Linked DNA regions of Homo sapiens: region 1 is linked to region 2. The links are contacts of gene promoters, found by promoter capture Hi-C in blood cells and fetal thymus (Javierre and others, 2016). All regions are on one chromosome and are shown on one strand. The core of a region is centred on a gene start or on the middle of the fragment in contact, and the rest is flanking DNA. Distances in the headings are between cores, read along the strand shown. Region 1 overlaps ENTPD7 (ectonucleoside triphosphate diphosphohydrolase 7). Region 2 holds the start of NKX2-3 (NK2 homeobox 3).

Region 1 (4,552 bases), core at 828-3,327, 180 kb before region 2:
AATGTAGAGAAAGAAATGTCTGCCATTTGCTGCTTAACAGGCTTTGTGTCAGGTTTTTCAGTGTTGGCAAGCTCTTGGTTCTACGTGGATGATTTCTACGTGGATGTTCTCCTGAGTCCTTAATTCTGCCTAAATAGAATTTCTTTATGATCTTAACTTCACTTCCATTAGGTGAAGATTGAAAGGATAGGATTGACATACCCAAAGTAGCCAGCTGGTCTTCAGCAAAAAAAAAAAAGCTAATGTCTTCTAATATCCTGATTTTCAGAAATGGGGAAATTGCAGATTTTGACAAGCTTAATGTGTATATGTAGCAAAATGGTTTTTAAGTACTTGGAAAAGGAGGTAATCGCCAAATAGTTCCATTTTTTTTTTTTTTTTTGAGACAGAGTTTCACTCTTGTTGCCCAGGCTGGAGTACAATGGCGTGATCTCAGCTCACTCTGCAACCTCCACTTCCCAGGTTCAAGCGATTCTCATGCCTCAGCCTCCCGAGTAGCTGGGACTACAGGCACAAGTCACCATGCCTGGCTAATTTTGTATTTTTAGTAGAGAAGGGGTTTCACCACATTGGCCGGGCTGGTCTTGAACTCCTGACCTCAGGTAATCCGCCCATCTCGGCTTCCCAAAGTGCTGAGATTACAGGCATGGGCCACCACGCCCAGCTAGTTCCTCTTTTGATAAGGCTGTTAACATTACAAGGTCAGAGAGAGGAATGGAATCGACAGTATAAATTGGTTCCTGAGAGGGTTTCCTAACAGCTTTGTAATAAGAAAAATATGGCCTTGATGGTGTAGTGCATGGACATCTACCCAGATAAACAAATTGTTGACTGCTGAATTAATGTGATTTTGGTCTCTATTGATATTTCATAGGGCCCTGTCTTATTCAACTTTACTTTTAAAATCAGTGATTTGGATGAAGGCATCAGAAACATCTGATTTGAGGATGGAGCAACCCAATATTGCTAATATAATAGATGACAGTGGCAACTGAAAACAGTCCCAGAATGACCCCATCGAGATGAAATTAAACAGATTAGAAATGTAACATACTCATTTAAATTAAATAAGTTGTATAAGTTTGGGCTGAAGAAACCTGGCCTTATATCATTTCATATAAAAAAGACGGGATTTTAGTTGTCCTCAGGTTCAATATGAACCAAGTAGTATTCATGTTGTTATTATATGATAACAGAAAAATTAGTGGTACTTCAGGTTTTATCAGTAGAAGTGTCACAGCCATAGTCAAAATACCCCTAACATACTGCATTTCACTCTGGGTACCAAATTTAAGCAAGATATTGATGGCCACTAAGTGTGTATCCAGAAGAAGAGATCAGAATGATGAGTCCAGAACCCCTGTCACACAGGGAATAGGTGAAGGAACTAGGGATATTTAACTGGAGCAGAGAACATCTGGAGAGAGAGCAAGATTCCTGTCCTTGAGAAGTTGAAGCCGTCTCATGCAGAAGAGGGAATGAGCTTCCATTATGCTGCAGAGCTGGCAGCAATGGATGAAAGTTGCAGGAAGTTAGTTTTAGTTCTGTAGAAGGCAAGAGTAGGGTAGACCAAATCAAATGCTCACTGGGGTCAGGCTGATGGAGACAGTAACACTGGCGAGCAGGTGCCCCAGCTCGGACTATACTGCTGAGTTCTGGTCTGTTGCTGCCACTCTACAGGTCCAGGGTTGTTAGATCTTCTGGGTTTTTGTTTTGCTTTTTGAAATAAGGAAAATAAGCTTATCTTAAGTTTATTTTTCCTTGGATATACCTAGATTCCATACAGTGACAATACAAATACAAAGGAAGAACATCTGGATTTCATCCTTGACCTCATTTACAAAGCAAAAAGAGATGCTGGATTCAGATATAAATGTTTAATTTTGCAGTGTTTAAGTCAGCAAATCTTCTGTTTTTTAAAAATAAGCCACATATCTAGATTTTTCTGTGAAAGCTCTCAATTAAGTGTTGGGAACTAATTTCAAGATTTTAAAAAATGTTATGCAGGCTTAACGTGTCTGAGAGCCATAAATGACCTAACGTTTCCCGTTAGTCTCTGAACTAGGTGATCTCAGTTCTCTTTCAACTCCAGTACTCTGTAAGTTTCTGTGACCTGTAGTGTACCATTCTCAGGTGGTGATATGGTTTGGATGTTTTGTCCCCTCCAAATCTCATGTTCAAAGTGTGACATTCAGTGTTAGAGGTGGGCCTAGTAGGAGGTATTTGGGTCATGGGGGCGGATCCCTTATGTATGACTTTGTGCCATCCCCATAGTAATGAGTGAGTTCTCACTCTGGTTGTTTATGCAAGAGCTGGTTGTTTAAAAGAGCCTGGAACTTCCTCCTCTCTCGCTTGCTCTCTCTCACCATGTGACACACTGGCTCCCCTTCACCTTCTGCCATGATTGTAAGCTTCGTGAGGCCCTCACCAGAAGCAGATGCCAGCGCCATGCTTCCTATACAGTTCTATGCAGAACAGTGAGCCAAATAAACCTCTTTTCTTTCTAAAAATTGTCAGTATTTCCTTATAGCAATGCAAGCCGACTAACACAGGTGATTCTTAGCAAAACAGTTTGTCAATTTTTCATAAATGCTGGACCCTGGCTGGGCTTATGCTATTGCCTAGAAGAGATTCCCAACTTCTCTCTTATTTGAATCTTAGAAAAATCCCAAAGCCCAAGCCTCATCTAAGACCAATTAAGTCACAATCCCTGGAGGAAGTAAAAGGCATATTTTTAAAGTTCCCCAGGTGATTCCAATGTGCAGACAAGTCTAGGGACCACTGGCTTAGGTCCTAATAGCCTAGTTACCTTAGAAAGTTCTGACTAGCTTATTCCCATTCCCTTCTAATTTCCACCCCACCTTATCATTTGATCTGCTATGTTGCTCCTATTAGTATGTTAGTAGGATATGGTCTCTTCTGGATAGAATCCTTCAAAGAAAGGGAACTGTAGTTCCTGAGGCAGGTTCCCACACCATCCTCTCCTGATCCTCAAACCCAGGTTGTCCTTAGTTAGTAACTGAGTCAGCAGAGGGCAGTATGACCCAACCCAAAGAACCATATATTAATGCTTCTACAGTTGCCTCCAAGGAAGTAGCAACTCATGAGTAAGTTAAGGTTTCAGATGTTTTACTTCATTTTTCTTTTATTACAGATGATGAGTACATTTGGAAAAACAACTGGTTGCATTTAGCTATATAACTGTATTATATCTATGAGCTTCTGGTGAATGATTATCTTAGGGTTTTTTTTGTATTTATGTTATTCCCAGCACTCCCAGACACATATCAAATATTGAATTAGTGAATGCATGAATGGAAAATGGATAATTACAGATTGATGTTCCAAATACCTTTTTCCAAAAAAACAAGTCATCACATACCTATAGGATTAAATAGATTTCCCTTAATATTTTCAAAGGTCTCTCTGCACTTACGTCCATTGTTTTTAAAACATGAAGGAAATTAAAACACATGGCTTTCTTAATCAGTCAACCTAGAATTTTTTGTCTGTAACTTAGACTGACAAATACTATCTATTGTAGCAGGGGTAATGACTAGCAACTCCCTAAAGCAATGTTGGTTGCAGAGATCAACACTGATAATCATGATTTTAGGATAACCAGTTTATCTACAGCTACCCTTGTGGTCCTGGGATGAATGGTGGGTTATATATCAGCATATGTAACACATATACCCATGTCCCTGCATAAGGGAGAATGCATCACCTCTCTAACATGCATCACACATTTTCCTCAACACTGACCTAAAATGTTTGTCAGTGAGAATTTTAAGAATTCAAAATTCAACAAAATTATTGTTTAATGTGAAGCAGTAGAAAAAACAGAGTCTTAACAACTCCCCAAAGCAATGTAATACAGGCAGCCTTTGGTTTTTTAAAGTGTAGATCATAATAAAAAGATGTCTTTCACTACACTCCGCAGAGGCCATTGATCAAGGTAGAAATAAAGGGGGAGTACATGGCATGTACTTCAGGACTTCAACTAAAGGGTAATTGTGGAATGAGAATTTCAAATACAACATAGTAACTGAAACACTAGAAACCAAAGTATGTGTCTGGGATCCCTGCTTGCAGAAAAACATTTATGAAGCTAGTAAGGGGCGTCTTCACCAGCAGCAGGCCAAATGCCGGCAAGTGCTCTGTAGGAGGGGCCACTTAGGAAAGTACCAGGGCTGCCTTGGAGTGGAGAAGGAGGAGTGGCCACCAGAGGGTATACAAGTGGTTGCCCTTTAAAAGAAGAGGCTCAGGAGCAGACATGTCTTTATGCTAGCCTGAAGTCATGCATGTGTGGCTATACATAGCCTGTGATTCAGAAGACTTTTCAACTTTGGTTTTCATAAAAATGGCAAGCAATGATGGATTACATTTTAAAAGTGAAAGCCCTTGTAGTATGAGTAATGATTCAGTTTTACTAATAAAAGGATCTCCGTATTGCTCAGATTTTCAGAGAAACAAAATGGTCAACTGGTGTGTTATTCCTTCCTCGTCCCTCTGATAACGGTACTGACAAACTGGAAAATAATGAAATATT
Region 2 (4,407 bases), core at 711-3,210:
GTGGCTGCGCAGAGCGTGCGGTAGTAAATGGCTGGACTTTTGGGAACGTTTGTGGCTCCTGGCGCTGTGGGACCCTGAGACAGCCCCAGTACCCAAAGAACGCCCTTAGCAGGCGGAGGCGCGTTTCGTGGAGAGGGGTAGTTAGTGCGTGTTTATTTGGATCTTGAGCATCTGCGAGAGAAGAGATTACTCTGTATTAAATATGCGGCTCGACGTGCTAATGACTATTTTCAGGATGAAGGCTTGCAACTACATAATAACTACAGTATTTGCAAACTCGTTTGCATTCTACTCCACCAAGGATAACTGAAGGTGTGAGGCGTGTTGGTATGAGTGGGCCGGTGGGCATGGGTTGCGCGAAAATCTGTTCTGAGTGTAACGCTTGTGCATGGCTCAGGGACTTGTGTGTGTGTGTGGCTTATAAAAGACTACAAGCGAATGTTATGACGACATCTGTGTGCACTTTGAAAATGAAGTTTGATTGACTAGTTATAGACAGTTTCATGCCGATTTTCGGCTCTGGGAACTATGAGAGCATAGGCCTTGGCCTCTGCCACATCAAACCGCCTCTTGGGGAAAGACTGTGATTCTGTCCTCTTAAATACACTTCCTTGGGGACTTTATTTGATTATCCCATCTCCCTATCAATTCACTTCCCATCCGATGTGAGCAGCCAAGATCTCGGACTCAAGTTCGGCGCGTTTTCTATTAGGCCCGCAGCCTGGGACACAAAGCAAAACGTTACGGATTTTCAAAAAAGGCTGGCGCCTTAGGGATGTGAGAGCTATGGTCGCGCGGAATAGACATTGTTCCCACGCACTTTCCGATCATCTCCTCTCTCTCTACCGAGTGCCACGGGTTCAAGGACGCTGAGCTCCAAGCAGAGAAGGGAGGAAACCGCCCAGCTGGCCTCCACCAAAGTTCCTGCCCCTGCGGGTGCGAGAGACACAGGCTGCTTGGGCTGTCTTTTCGGAGAAGAAGGGGTGGCTGCCCTGGGCTAAGAGAACTCATCTCACCCTAGAGGGAAAACGAAAAAGGTCCAGGCTCCTGCCCTTTTTGGGGGAAGAGCCTTTTGGGGCGGGGGGAAGAGCAAAAATACTGCCAGTTATGAGGACCCAGGCGCTGAGCCCACGTCGCCTCTCAGCATCAGGGCAGCAGTAACCACCTTCCCTTCCCTCATTTCCCCCTTTTGGGGGGAGTAGTTGTCAGGGTCACCTCGTCCTTGTCTCTCCACCCCGGCTCCCTTGCAGGTACCTGCGCTTTGTGGAGCTGTCGGTGACCAGGGCGGAGGCATGGCCCCAGCCAAAGGGTAAAGGGATGGGCAGCTGCGCTGGCAAGGTCTGTGGGCTGTTTGTGTGCGCTCTGCCATTGCTCCAGGTGTGCGGGTGCGTTTTCTTTCCCCCTCTACTCACTTTGGCTCCGGTCCCTCACGACCTCGGGCTCCTCTTCATGTTCCTTGGGCTCGCTGCACGAGTCTCGCAGGACCGTGTGGACATAGCCCTGGGGACACAGCCCTGAATCCCCGTGGCCGTCTGCTGCGGCTAGTGAGTTCAAATAGGACAATTTCTCGCCCTCGTCTTCCTCGTCCTCCTCCCCTCCGTCAGAAAATTGCGTCCCCTCAGCGGCGGCCAGCATGCAGGGCGCAGAGTGGAAGTGGTGCTCCAAGTCCGCCTGCAAGTGCGCACCATGGAAGTGCTGGTGCTGCTGCTCCAGATTCAAAATGTCTTTGACTGAGAAAGGGGTGGAGGTGACCGGGCTTGGTAACATCATCAGGGCCACTTAATTGTCCAGTCCAAATAATAAATCCCGGCGGGGGCGGGGAGGCAGCGCGGCGGCTCCAGCTCTCCTCCTGGACTCCGCCGCTGCTGCCGAGTCGGGCTTTTGACAGACGCGGTCCCACTCCAGTCTAAATCGCCTCCATTGGCCGGGACCTGGGGGTCTGGGTTTTGTTACAGCCACTGCAGGGACTGGGGCCCGGGCTCCTAAGCCTCTGTCCGGGAGATTTGCGTCACGTTGGGGGGGCGGGGCTGGCGCCCCAACCTCCCTCCCTATAGGTTCTGGCTCATGTGGGCCACGCCCCCTGCTCTCTGCGAGTGGGATGTTGCGGCTCTACCAGAAATAGACAAGGACTAGTATAGAGTCCTGAAGTCCGAGACGCTGCGGGCGAGGCTGCACAGATCCGGTTCCTGAACCATTGATTCCCGCGTGGCTGCACCTTCCCGACCTAGGCCAGTTCTGGGAGGCTTGCTGTCCACGAACCAACGCCAGGGAAGGATGCCCCAGGAGTGTGTTTTTTTCAGCTGCTGCGCGGGGCAGGAAAACTTCCTGGCGGGTAAATACTGGGCGCTGGATCCACGAGGAGATGCAGTGTTTTATCTATCTATGGGTGGGCGACATGTCCTTTTTCAACTTGTTGCCTTTGCTCAAGCTTTCTCTCCACTTGGAACATGTTTCTGACACTTAGCCTCCACGAGTGGAAACTGTTCTCCAAGGAAGAGCTCCTAGATCGTCTAGCCGGAAGTCCCCTCTTTCAGGCTCTGAACCTGCAGCTTGTGTTAGCAAAGGACATGCATGTCACTTATCACTTCCCACTTAATTCTATAGCTGTATGTGCCTGCCTGGTCGCCCCAGTTAGACTGTAAGCTCCATGAGGGCAGTGTCCCGGGGTTGCTTTTGCCCTTGTATCCCTGGCAGCAGCCGCACAGAGCAGTATGTGAAAGGAAGATAGAGTTATGACTAAACTTTGGTATTCGACAGCTCTTGCTTGGCCTAGTCAGTGTGTGATCTTCGGCGTTTCTAAGTCTGTTTTCTCGTCTATAAAACGAAGGCAGTAATACCTTTTTTGGTTGTTGCTAGGGTTGAATGAGGCAAAACATGCCAGAATCTTAGTGCACGGCCTCACGCGTGTTAAGCGCTCAGTACGTGTCAACGACTGCTTTTCTGTATGGGAGGTCAAGCAGTGTTTGTTGACTGCATTGGTGGTGCGTGGCTGGAGTGTGGCACATACTGAGAGCAGGATCTGTCCTCACAAGGGAGGTGACCCAGCCTTGGCAGCCTTCTTTTCCACCTATTGAAATCAGGAGCCTGAATGTAGGCCTTGCCTCTCCGACAGGCTTTTAAAATTTCTCTACCTACACGCCTTCTGGCACCTTCATGAGGCCCTGGTTGTTTTCTGGGGGAGTCTATACAGTCCCCCACAGATTCTGGAAACTCTGAGCTGGAAACTCTGGGACCATCTTCTCCCACAATAGGCATTTGCTCGCTACCAGGCCTAGCCCAGTGAGGAGCAGCGGGCGCTGCTTTGAGGGCCACAGAAAGACCCGTGTGCAGCGCTGGCCTTAAAAAAATAGGGAACGGTTCCAGCTCAACCGTGGCTGTCCTCATCCGGCCCCAGCCAATCCAAGCATTTTTTGGCGGTCAGGATGGCGGAGCTGAAAGAGACCCGTCTCACCTGGAAGGGGCAGGTGAAAGGTGCAGGGACGGTGGACATTGCCTCCGAGCGGCATAAGACACCGGCTGGGAGTGGGTACGAGGGTGGAGGGCTGCCACGCGGGTCCCGCAACGGCGACAGGAGTGGGTGCCCAAGGTTGAAGGGAGAAAGAACAGCCTGTCGGGAGGTGGGAGAGGCGGGGCTCTGCAGAAGGGAGCGGAACTGTTGTGGAGAGGCAGCCCCTGGGTCCGCCCGGGGAGCTGGGATGCCGCGCGGGCCACGTGCGCCCCGGAGTACTTAGGGTAGCGGCGGCCCGCAGGCAGTAGGGAGAGACCCTCTGTGGGCAGGGTCTTGTGCTGGAACCGCCATTCCTCAGCCACAGGGGCGCCCGGTGTCTTTCTGCTTTAAATCCTGAAACTATTGACGCCCCAGGCGGAGACCAGTGTCTACAAACCAGGCGGTGAGTCTGCAGAGGGAGGAATGTGCCTGGTTTTGCCGTGGATCCCGAGCGCTCGGGCACAAAAATTCCGAGGTGGGGGCAGAGGGGTGCACGGCACTGCGGGGTGGCGGACCTCGAGTGTGTGTGCATCACGGTGGCCGCCGAGCATAAAAGCAGGAAGCTGAGCTCCAGCGCCACTTCCCCACCCCACCTCCGGGGCAAAACTGTCTCAGGGGAAATGTTTCTGCTCTCTTCTAGTCCCCAGTTTTCTTCTCCTCGGTGATTTCATGATTCTGGAAAAAGAAAAGGAGAAAGGCTATCGAAACAATCTCTCTCTCCCCAGTTTCCAACCGAAGCCTGCATTTCTCCTTGTTACATTCCCTTGCTTCCCATCTCGCTTCGCTCCTAGGCCTTTCATAAATCTAGCCCAACAATCCAGGTCTTAAAACTGCGACCAGGACAAAGCGCCCCTCCAGCGCCTGATCGCCAATACACGCCCACAGACGCTCTGCAGCCGCCGGAGCCCACCAGGGCGCCT

What was found. Contacts are between HindIII fragments. The CHiCAGO score rates a contact against its expected background, and 5 or more counts as called.
Region 1: a fragment that was not itself captured here is called in contact with the fragment with the promoter of NKX2-3 in region 2 in 2 of 17 cell types (megakaryocytes and naive B cells); the score reaches 6.8 in megakaryocytes.

The regions. Positions count from the first base shown.
Region 1 is chr10:99,709,802-99,714,353 of GRCh38, reverse strand. ENTPD7 (ectonucleoside triphosphate diphosphohydrolase 7) reads right to left here. Exons shown (of 13, transcript NM_020354.5): 13 at 3,113-4,552. COX15 (cytochrome c oxidase assembly factor COX15) reads left to right here. Exons shown (of 9, transcript NM_078470.6): 9 at 1-3,486. Among named protein-coding and RNA genes, the nearest start is that of COX15, 20 kb to the left of the region's middle. The HindIII fragment of the contact is 672 bases long and covers 1,742-2,413 here.
Region 2 is chr10:99,530,495-99,534,901 of GRCh38, reverse strand. It overlaps NKX2-3 (NK2 homeobox 3), which reads right to left and starts at 1,960. Exons shown (of 2, transcript NM_145285.3): 1 at 1,413-1,960. The coding sequence starts at 1,770. LINC01475 (long intergenic non-protein coding RNA 1475) reads left to right here and starts at 3,725. Exons shown (of 5, transcript NR_120618.1): 1 at 3,725-3,890. RefSeq lists an enhancer at 1,739-2,630. The HindIII fragment of the contact is 5,996 bases long and covers 1-2,430 here.